Linked DNA regions of Homo sapiens: region 2 is linked to region 1. The links are contacts of gene promoters, found by promoter capture Hi-C in blood cells and fetal thymus (Javierre and others, 2016). All regions are on one chromosome and are shown on one strand. Each heading gives the region's core, a stretch centred on a gene start or on the middle of the fragment in contact. The rest is flanking DNA. Distances are from core to core; before and after follow the strand shown. Region 1 holds the start of IKBIP (IKBKB interacting protein). Region 2 holds the start of TRD-GTC2-10 (tRNA-Asp (anticodon GTC) 2-10).

Region 1 (5,434 bases), core at 1,396-3,895:
ACTAACTTTCCCAAAACACAAAAGGTTACTTATTTATTTAGGCGAAGTCTCGCTCTGTTATCCAGGCTGGAGTGCAGTAGCAGATCTTGGCTCACTGCAACCTCCACCTCCCAGGTTCAAGTGATTCTCCTGCCTCAACCTCTGAGTAGCTGGGATTACACCAGGCCCAGCTAATTTTTGTGTTTTTGGTAGAGATAGGGTTTCACCATGTTGGACAGGCTGGTCTCAAATTCCTGACCTCAAGTGATTCGCCTGCCTCGGCCTCCCAAAGTGCTAGGATTACAGGCGCAAGCCACTGCACCTGGCCCAAAAAGGTTTTTTTTTCAATTTACTTAAAGGAGGTCAAGCATTTTAAGGCATAAGAGCCGTTTATTTAAAACAGTAAATTCAGTACATTTATTCCTTTCAGATCAAAATTAACATATTCCGTATTAGTAAAATAAATAATGCTATCTGCTTTTTTTTTTTTTTTTTTTGAGAAGGAGTTTTGCTCCATCCTGCAGGCTGGAGTGCAGTGGCACGATTTCGGCTCACTGCAACCTCCGCCTCTTGGGTTCAAGTGATTTTCCTGCCTCAGCCTCCTGAGTAGCTGGGATTACAGGAGCATGCCACCATGCCTGGCTTTTTTGTATTTTTAGTAGACACAGGGTTTTGCTATGTTGGCCAGGCTGGTCTCAAACTCCTGACCTCAGGTGATCCACCCACCTTGGCCTCCCAAAGTGCTGGGAGTACAGGCATGAGCCACTGCCGGCAGGCTGACAATTCTATTGTTTTTGAAGAGGGCGTTTAATCACTTTATTGTGACAAAATTTTGTTTGTTTGTTTTTTGAGATGGAGTCTCGCTCTGTTGCCCAGGCTGGAGTGCAATGGCACGATCCCAGCTCACTGCAACCTCCACCTCCCCATTTCGAGTGATTCTCCTGCCTCAGCCTCCTGAATAGCTGGGATTGCAGGTTTGTGCCACCAAGCCTGGCTAATTTTTGTATTTTTTGTAGAGACAGGGTTTCACCATGTTGGCCAGCCTGGTCTTGAACTCCTGACCTCATGATCTGCCCACCTCGGCCTCCCAAAGTGCTGGGATTACAGGTGTGAGCCACCGCGCCCAGCCGTAACAAATCTTTTAACTCTGAAAAATACACTATTTGGGATGAGTCACCAGTAAAGTATAATTCCATATGTAGTAGCATAAAAAATGTCTAGATGTCCAGGGTCTCTTCTAAAATTCTATCACTCTGGAAGATTAACAACAGTCTTACTAAATAACTTTACACATGAATGAAAAATGGAGAAAAATTCTATTAAGATGCCAATCTTATTAAAATGAAATGGGCTATTCCCTCCTCCCGCCAGAAAAAAAAAGGCTGGGAAAATAAAATTCACAAGTTGGTTTTTTTCTTTTTTCTTTTTTTACGAGTTGGTTTTAAGGTTATTTCTAATATTCATTTTTCCTAATGACACCAATATATCGCCATTTACCTGATTTTAAAACTGCAACTGGTTAGTTTTAAGTGAACACAAGTGCTATGTTTTTGTAGCTTTACCATATTCAATCTGTAACTTACTTAATAAAAGACCTTAAATTCATAATGCATGCACGGTGATCAAAATATGAGCACTCCTCCAAGCTCTGCTACTATAACGTTTGCTCCTTTGGGAGCATAATGATATGGTTTTCTTTTTTTTTTTTTTTTGAGACGGAGTCTCGCTCGGTCGCCCAGGCTGGAGTGCAGTGATGCGATCTTGGCTCATAGCAACCTCCGCCTCCCGGGTTCAAGCGATTCTCCTGCCTCAGCCTCCGGAGGAACTGGGACTACAGGCGCCCGCCACCACGCCCGGCTGATTATTCGTATTTTTGGTAGAGATGGGGTTTCACCATGTTGGCCAGGCTAGTCTCGAACTCCTGACCTCAAGTGATCCACCTGCCTCGGTCTCCAAACATAATGATCTGTTTTAAGGTTGCAAGTATTTCCATTAGGTATTTATGGGGTGAGTAGGGTGGGGCAGATGTGTCCCGGAATGGGGCACAGCGGACAGGAAGTAACGGTTTATAACAACGTGAACGCTTCTGACGTGTAGCGGGAGCTTCAGAAAGCGTGGCCGAATCTGCAGCTCTTAACAAATGGCTCGTTCCCAAACCTTAGCCTCAACTCCTTCTGAGCGATAGGGGCATGCTACCAGCACGGGGGGAAATGAGATACAAGAAACGCCCGAAAGGGAAAAACAAGGCTGGGCTGTTTCCTTCCTTTGGGGTCAAGACAGAGGCACAGAAGGCCCAGGTCTGGGAGGTTGGATCACCTCCGGCTGGATGTTGAGCCGGGTGGGAGCCCAAACAGCAGGGGGCCCACAGGAGGCCGGCCCAGGCAGCCTCGCGTCCACTTACCAGGCCAGGCCCAGGCACGTCCCCAGCGACAGCAGGCTCAGGCACGTTCGGGGGTCTGCCCAGCCCCCGCCTCCGCTGCTCCGGGCCACGGGGGTCTTCCCGCCCTCGCTCCGCTTCCCGGGCTCCGCAGCAGGGGCTCCCTTGGGCCCCGACTTCTTCCGGCTCTTCACCTCAGACATGTCTGGAGACCCTAGGACGACAAGCCCAGGGCAGCTTCTTCACCAGGGGGAGCAGGACGTGGCCGCCTTGGCGTTCGTGGGAACCCTGGGCGGTGACCGCGCCCCCTCACAGACTTGGCACCGCCCAGAGCCCAGCCCCTTCCCTCTCCCCGGCATCCTCGTTGCTTCACTGAGTCTTTCAGCTGCCAGCTCCATAGTTCCCCTAGGAGAGGTGGGCGGCGACCTCAACCCACAGCGCCTTCCACTGCGATATTGCTCCAAATCCGAGGAAATTCAAACTCCCGGGCGCGCGCAGGCCGACGGGACCCGAGGAGGAGGGGCAGGACGAAGGGGTCGCGCGCGCCACGTCGGGCGCGCCGCCGCTGCCCGAGTCCGGCATTGGTGGGAACGCGGCGCGTCCCTGAGGCTTAGCCACGCCCCGTCCGCGGGGTAGGCGGGCACTTCTACGCGCGCGGGCATGAGCCGTGGCAGGAGTGCGCGGCGGCAGCGGTGGCCGCCCCTTGGGGCTTGGGGTGTGTTTATTTGCATAAGCGGGCGCGCGCCGTCCGGGCTGGGTGGATCCGGCGGGATTTGACTGCTCCGCTGTCCAGAGGCGGAGAAGAAGAGGTAGCGAGTGGACGTGACTGCTCTATCCCGGGCAAAAGGGATAGAACCAGAGGTGGGGAGTCTGGGCAGTCGGCGACCCGCGAAGACTTGAGGTGCCGCAGCGGCATCCGGAGTAGCGCCGGGCTCCCTCCGGGGTGCAGCCGCCGTCGGGGGAAGGGCGCCACAGGCCGGGAAGACCTCCTCCCTTTGTGTCCAGTAGTGGGGTCCACCGGAGGGCGGCCCGTGGGCCGGGCCTCACCGCGGCGCTCCGGGACTGTGGGGTCAGGCTGCGTTGGGTGGACGCCCACCTCGCCAACCTTCGGAGGTCCCTGGGGGTCTTCGTGCGCCCCGGGGCTGCAGAGATCCAGGGGAGGCGCCTGTGAGGCCCGGACCTGCCCCGGGGCGAAGGGTATGTGGCGAGACAGAGCCCTGCACCCCTAATTCCCGGTGGAAAACTCCTGTTGCCGTTTCCCTCCACCGGCCTGGAGTCTCCCAGTCTTGTCCCGGCAGTGCCGCCCTCCCCACTAAGACCTAGGCGCAAAGGCTTGGGTAAGTTGACCTCCTCGCTTTTCTCCCCGAGCCAGGTTCTTTGGAGGCTTGGTAGCTGATTTCAGGGACTGAGAATTTGAGGACATGGAATATTTGATAACCATCCTGCTCCTGTACCAGGAAGAGAAATTCTGTAATGAGGAAGTAGTAAACTTGGGGTTTTCGTGGATAAACGTGCGCTGTTTTCTGTTTTACGTCCATGAAGAGTTTTGGCTTTCCATTTTGTTGTGGGTTACAAAAGGTTTTGAGACTTAGTTCAGATAAGTTGTGCAGTTTTAAAACGTATTTAAGATTTGCATATTTTAGTTTAACAGGACTAGGTGAAATTGGAAATTAGTTTCAGAAAACCAGAGTGTCTTATTTGCTTAGCTATTGGACATCACCTAAAAAATTCATTCATTCTTGTTTTTTCACATCGAATTTCATTACTATAAATTAAGGAACATTTTATGTTTAAGAGGACAAAAACGTTATTAACATTTTAAAAAATGAGAGTTTTGATTCGAATCAATAACTTTTTATCAGTTTTGTGCCCCTGCTGGGCATTTTGTAAGCCTTGACAAGCATAGGCAAATGCCCTACGTCCGTCCCTGTTTTTCCAAGTGCTACATTTGGTGACTTCAAAAACAGTCATTGAAGCTTGATAATTATTGCCCCCTTCTGTGAGCTCCAAGTTACTTGTGCTCTGTTTTTGCACTTCGGGCATTCACATTCCCACTCTCTCTCTCTTTTTCTTCTTTGAGTAGACTGTGAATTATTTCAGGCAAATGACTCAATCTTTTCTGTAGTCTTGGTGTCTGACATATAGGGAGGGGCACAAATGTGTATTGAATGAATGAATTGATAAACCCGTTTAGACTCTTTCACTCTATACATTGTGTAAAGTTCTGTTAATGTTTTGAAAACTTGCAGATATTGTGAACTGGGTTTTATGCCCATGGAAAAATTTGCATTATATTTGAAATAAAGTTGCTAGAAACGTCAAGTATTTTACTATAAAGGCTGTTATTCTTTCCTCATGTCCTCCTGGTCTGAGAAATCACATCAGAAAGTGTTTCCTGTTGCTTTGTGGGAAATGTGTTTAGCAAGGAGGACCTAGAGCTGACATCCTCCTTGAACGAGAACTAATACTCAATAGTAACAATGCTCTATTCACTCTTATGTTTGATAAGGAAAACAAGAAGTCTCTTAATATTAGGACTTCAATGTAATCACTATTTTATACAATCTTAATTAAAAAAGGAAGTATTTTATTGTAAGAAATGATAATGTGTGCTAAAAAAAATTGACAGTAGAGGCCGGGCATGGTGGGGCTCACAAGTGTAATCCCAGCACTTTCGGAGGCTGTGGCGGGTGGATCACCTGAGGTCAGGAATTCAAGACCAGCCTGGTCAACATGGTGAAACCCCGTCTGTACTAAAAAAAAAAAAAAAATAAGACAAGGTGGGGGAGAAATCCCAAATTTTGCTACTCAGAAGTAACTCAAACATTTCGATGAATAAACTTCTAAACGTCTATATATATTCATATGATACCAACACTTGTTTTTTTTTTTGAGACAGAGTCTCAGTCTGTCGCCCAGGCTGGAGTACAGTAGAGTGGTCTCGGCTCACTGCAACCTCTGCCGCCCTGGTTCAAGCAGTTCTCTTGCTTCAGCCTCCCGAGCAGCTGGGATTACAGGCACCTGCCACTGCATCTGGCTAATTTTGTATTTTTAGTAGAGACAGGGTTTCACCATCTT
Region 2 (5,434 bases), core at 1,585-4,084, about 26 Mb after region 1:
AGCTGGGATTACAGGGATGCACAACCACGCCCGGCTAATTTTGTATTTTTATTTTTAGTAGAGATGGGGGTTTCTCCATGTTGGTCAGGCTGGTTTCGAGCTACTGACCTCAGGTGATCCGCCCGCCTGGGCCTCCCAAAGTGCTGGGATTACAGGTGTGAGCCACTGCCCCTGGCCAAAGCCAACTCTTTTACAGTGAGCAATTCAGTGGCATTTGGTGCATTCGCACTGTTGTGCAACCCCCATCTCTATCTCACTCCAAACATTTTCTTTCTTTTCTTTTTCCTTTTTTTTTTTTTTGATGGAGTCTCAACTTGTTACCCAAGCTGGAGTGCAATGGCGTGATCTCGGCTCGGTGGAACATCCGCCTCCCAGGTTCAAGCAATTCTCCTGCTTCAGCCTCCCGAGTAGCTGGGATTACAAGCGCACGCCACTACACCCGGCTAATTTTTTGTATCTTTAGTAGAGACAGGGTTTTCACCATGTTGGCCAGACTGATCTCGAACTTCTGACCTCGTGATCCACCTGCTTCGGCCTCCCAAAGTGCTGGGATTACAGGCGTGAGCCACCGCGCCCGGCCGATAAATGAAATTTAATCCTCGTTTTCCTCCTCTTCGTCCTGGTTAATTTGGAAGTAACGTAATTCGTAACTCTGTTTGCTGTTAGCAACTACGCGCAACCAATCATGTAGATTATTCTTCTTCAGATATTTTTTGGTGAGATATTTCAAATACCTGTTGGAAAAGGGCAGCTTGGATGTCACGCTGGTCTTGCTCTTGCTCCCTTCGATGGTCACTACCCCTCCACCAAAGTTCCCAGCTTTTCCGTTCATTTTGATCCTTTCTTGGAAAAACTGCTCAAAGTTGGCAGCATCCATGATTCCATCTTCTACGGGGTGGGTGCGATCAAGAGTGAACTTTGGAACCTGCTTCCTTTTTTTTAGCCCTCCTTTACCACAAGCTTTTTCATGGGCGCCATGGCGGTAGCGGAGGCAGAAAGAAGGCAACATTTGTTTGTTTGTTTGTTTTGAGATGGAGTCTCTCCCTGTCACCCAGGCTGGTAGTGCAGTGGTGCAATCTTGGCTCACTGTAACCTCCGCCTCCTGGGTTCAAGCAATTCTCCTGCCTCAGCCTCCCTAGTAGCTGGGACTACAGGCGCCCGCCACCATGCCCAGCTAATGTTTGTATGTTTAGTTGAGACGGGGCTTCACCATGTTGGCCAGGCTGGTCTCGAACTCCTGACCTCGTGATCCTCCCGCCTCGGCCTCCTATAGTGCTGGGATTACAGGCGTGAGACACCGCGCCCGGCAGGAAGACAAATGTTTTTACAGGAAAAAAAGGAGGAGGATTACATAATTGTTCTGACATAATTATGGTTGGCTGCAAAGATCAATAACAGAGGTGACCGTAGTCTGAGGCTGGACAGGCAGCTGCTTGGCGGATGTCCTTGCAGTAGTCTTTTTTGTGTAAGGTCGCGAAGGCGTTTGTGCAAGGTTGTGGTTTTTCTAGAGTCTTTTATCAGGCCTGCAAGCACGGGAACCCTCTCTTCATGGCCTTCCCTGGTTCTATTTGTCAGGGTTTATTTATTTATTTATTTACTTACTTAACATCCATGACTTCATTTTGATTCTGACAACTTTCACAACATCATGGGTTGAAAGTAGTAACTTGTGTTTTACTTCCATTTATTTAAATACTTCTAAGAGCCAAGCTTTTCTGTAAGTTTTATTAATGAATCATTTTTCCTCTTCTGTAAATTCATTGCCTGTTGATTGTGATCTATTGATATTTTTGAATTTTTCTTAGTGATTTAAAAAATTATTTCTATAATAAAGATATTAGGCTGGGTGAGGTGGCTCACACCTGTAATCGTAACACTTTGGGAGGCTAAGGCGCGGGGATTGCTTGAGCTCAGGAGTTTGAGACCACCCTGGCTCCTCCTAAATGATTGAAAGGACACAACATAATGGATATGCTGTAATTGATAAAGAGACCTTAAAAAAAGTAAAATCAGGAAGATTACCAAATAATTGGTCTGCTCAAGCTTGCAAGTTATTCGCACTTAGGCCCTAAAATATTTACAGAACCAGGTAGGAACTATCTATACTGACTCTAAATATGCTTTCAGAGTATCTCATACATTTGGAAAAATTTAGGCTGAGCGAGAACTATTTAACAGTAAAGGTAAGGAACTTGCTCATGAAACACTAGTTGTTCATGTTCTTAATAATCTTCAATTACCGGAAGAAATAGCCATTGTCCATGTTCCAGGACACCAACCTAATTTTTCTTTTAAAAGTCAAGGAAACGGCCGGGCGCGGTGACTCACGCCTGTAATCCCAGCACTTTGGGAGGCCGAGGCAGGCGCATCACGAGGTCACGAGATCGAGACCATCCTGGCTAACACGGTGAAACCCCGGCTCTACTAAAAATACAAAAAAATTAGCCGGGCGTGGTGGCGGGCGCCTGTAGTCCCAGCTACTAGGGAGGCTGAGCCAGGAGAATGGCGTGAACCTGGGAGGTGGAGCTTGTAGTGAGCTGAGATCGCGCCACTGCACTCCAGACTGGGCGACAGTGCTAGACTCCCTCTCAAAAAGAGGAAAAAAAAAAAGAAAGAAAGAAAGAAAGAAACTTAACAGAATGCAGTGAGGTCAGGCACTTCCAAGAGCTGACCCATCAGTCAGCCCTTATTCATCCCCGAGTGGGTGTATGGTGGTATTTTGGAGAACCTTTACTGGACACTTTGCCAAATAATTGGAGCGGTACTTGTGCTCTAGTTCAGTTAGCTATCCCTTTTACCCTGGCATTTCATCAACCAGAAAAACAAACAAACAAAAAAACATGACATCGTAAAACAAGAGAAGCCTCTCGTAGGTCCTTTGACCCCCATGTTTATTTAGATACAACTGACGTTCCACGAGGTATATCAGATAAATTCAAAGCTAGAAATCAGAGAGCTGTGAGGTTCAAATCCCTTCTCCCACAAATAACAATTAATAAGAATGTAAATTGGATAAACAATATTTATTACTATCAACAACAATTTATTAACTATACTTAAAGATGCTATTAAAGGAATAGCAGAACAGTTAGGATCCACTACTAAAATGGCTTAGGAAAATAAAATGGCTTTAAATGTAGTATTAGCCGAGAAAGGTGGTGTTTGTGTTATAATTAAAACCCAATGTTGTGTACAACCTTCATCCCAAATAACACGACTCCTAACAGAAGTATAACCAGAACCTTACAAGGTCTCACTGCTTTATCTAAAGAGCTTACTAGAAATTCTAGAATTAATAACCCTATTTCAAATTGGCTAGGACGATGGTTTGGTCAACGGAAGGAAACTATAACCTCAATTCTCACTTCTATTACTACCGTAATAGGTACACTTCTCCTTCTCGGATGTTATACCATGCCTCTGGAAGCTAATGACAAAATTAATAACGACAGTTCTTACCAAAACTACTAAAACCTATCTTAACTCTCCTCCACCTTATTCTAAGAGATTTCTCCTCTTAAAAGCTCAAGTAGAACAATTAAGCCAAAACATGCTAAAACAGTTTAAAAAGGAAAAATTATAAAAATTAAAAGGGAAGGAAATGTAGAAAGCAAAAGTTCCTCTTCAAAGCTTCCCCTTTAAATCATAAATGTTATTAATATCTTTTCTCAGAACTAACTTTCTTCAAATTTCTTATTTTATAGTAATAACTCTCTGTTAAGCCTTAGGTAGCAAATGTAACAGAATAAGCACACTCTGACTTCGGTATCTGTGCTAAACATGCTCACAGGCACGTAGTACATTCTATGTCCTTGTACCTTTGTCAAAATATTCGTGCTGGACGTGCCCAGGCATGTCCCAGCTTGCAGCCTACACTCTTCCTTATTTAGGAATATTATTACTTTTCTAAGTCCTTTCGTAAGGAACATCCTTTTTTCCTATGTTCCTCACTGCTTTTACCTATTTAAAAAATTTTTGAACTGTTAGCTAATCGGGTTTTAGTTTAAATTGTGAGGTCTGGCTGCAGCCAATGAAGTCAAAACACAGCAATAGGGACCTCATGCATAAGGAATAAATATTCTTCAGTTGTATCTGACTTTTAAAAATTAGACGTATCATTTTGATAAAAATCGAATAAGAGAGGAAAGGAAAGAAAAGAAGGGAGAAAAAAATAGAATTCCAAAAGTCCAGAAAGGTACAGAAATGGAAAGTCAAAAAGTCACTCCTCCCACCCACCACCCGAGTCCTTCTCCCCAAAGGCCCCCTATGTCTACAGTTGATCGTGACTGATGTGACCGCGGGCGGGCCACGGAGCCTCTGTCTGAGCCTGTATTTCATCAGTTTGATGTGGAGAAAACGGCTCGTTGGTAGGATCCTTGAGGATGTAATGCGTGAACACTAAAGCGCTTACCAATACCGCCCCCGCACGTTAAGAACTGTATATTGTTGGCTGCTGCTCCTGCTGCTGTTGTTACCGTGATGCCAATCAGAAACATTAATATACTCACACATTTGTGTGCATATCTATAATTTTTTGACATAAAAATGAACCTATTATGCTCACTGCCGAGCACCCTGTTTTTTCTTCCCTCGAACTCTCCTTGGAGGGGAAGGAACCCTCGTAAGGGCCCTAATTCAGTGTTGCAGGCACACCTGCGATGTGCACATCCTCTTATACCTACTCTGTATATTTTGGAACACCGAAAAGCATCGCCAACAAAGTCTCCCCTCTGTATTTAAAAATACGAAAGTACCCGGCCTCCCCGTCGGGGAATCGAACCCCGGTCTCCCGCGTGACAGGCGGGGATACTCACCACTATACTAACGAGGACAAGCCGTACTGTGTTCCCTGCAGCTCCCTTCTTATGTCCATACCATTCTCTCGCTATCGTTCCTAACCTTTCCGGGCCATCCAGGCTCCGCGCCGGGCACCCTGGCTGCTGGGCTTATCCAAGGCGGGTAGAGGCCCCTTTGAGTGGCTGGAGGCACTGCACGTTCCGAAGCTAAGGCACCTGAACTAGCAGAGCGAAGGGCACTTCCTGTATCACCATCCCCAGAAAAGACCAACACAAGGGGTAGGGGATGTAGCTCAGTGGTAGAGCGCATGCTTTGCACGTATGAGGCCCCGGGTTCAATCCCCGGCATCTCCAGACTTTTCCGCCTTTTTCGGGCAAATTACAGTCACGTGGTTACAAAAGCTTGGAAGAGGACCCAGGCAACCCTCAACAACCTGCCTGCGAAGAAAGCTCCCTTGGAAGGGGCTGCGCCAGCACATTTCCCTGCCCCTAATCACAAATGCCCTGGGCCCCTCCACCGGAGATTCGCGTTCAGTAGGTCAGTGACGGGGCCGGGAATCTGCCATTTGAAACGAATACTCCCAGTTATTTGTTTCATCAAGCAGATAGAAAAACATGGATTCCTTAGAAAGGTTCTG

What was found. Contacts are between HindIII fragments. The CHiCAGO score rates a contact against its expected background, and 5 or more counts as called.
Region 2: a contact is called between a fragment that was not itself captured here and the fragment with the promoter of IKBIP in region 1, in 1 of 17 cell types (M0 macrophages). The highest score is 5.7, in M0 macrophages.

What each region holds. Positions count from the first base shown.
Region 1 is chr12:98,642,143-98,647,576 of GRCh38, forward strand. IKBIP (IKBKB interacting protein) reads right to left here and starts at 2,646. Exons shown (of 3, transcript NM_153687.4): 1 at 2,381-2,646. The coding sequence starts at 2,559. APAF1 (apoptotic peptidase activating factor 1) reads left to right here and starts at 3,148. Exons shown (of 27, transcript NM_181861.2): 1 at 3,148-3,693. RefSeq lists enhancers at 1,364-1,991, 1,992-2,618, 2,619-3,246 and silencers at 2,823-3,022, 3,343-3,552. The HindIII fragment of the contact is 4,349 bases long and covers 1-4,330 here.
Region 2 is chr12:124,934,888-124,940,321 of GRCh38, forward strand. TRD-GTC2-10 (tRNA-Asp (anticodon GTC) 2-10) reads right to left here and starts at 4,831; the gene lies at 4,760-4,831. TRA-TGC4-1 (tRNA-Ala (anticodon TGC) 4-1) reads left to right here and starts at 5,079; the gene lies at 5,079-5,150. It also overlaps the pseudogene RPL22P19. RefSeq lists enhancers at 3,136-4,335, 3,824-4,093, 4,374-4,613 and a silencer at 4,794-4,873. The HindIII fragment of the contact is 1,587 bases long and covers 2,042-3,628 here.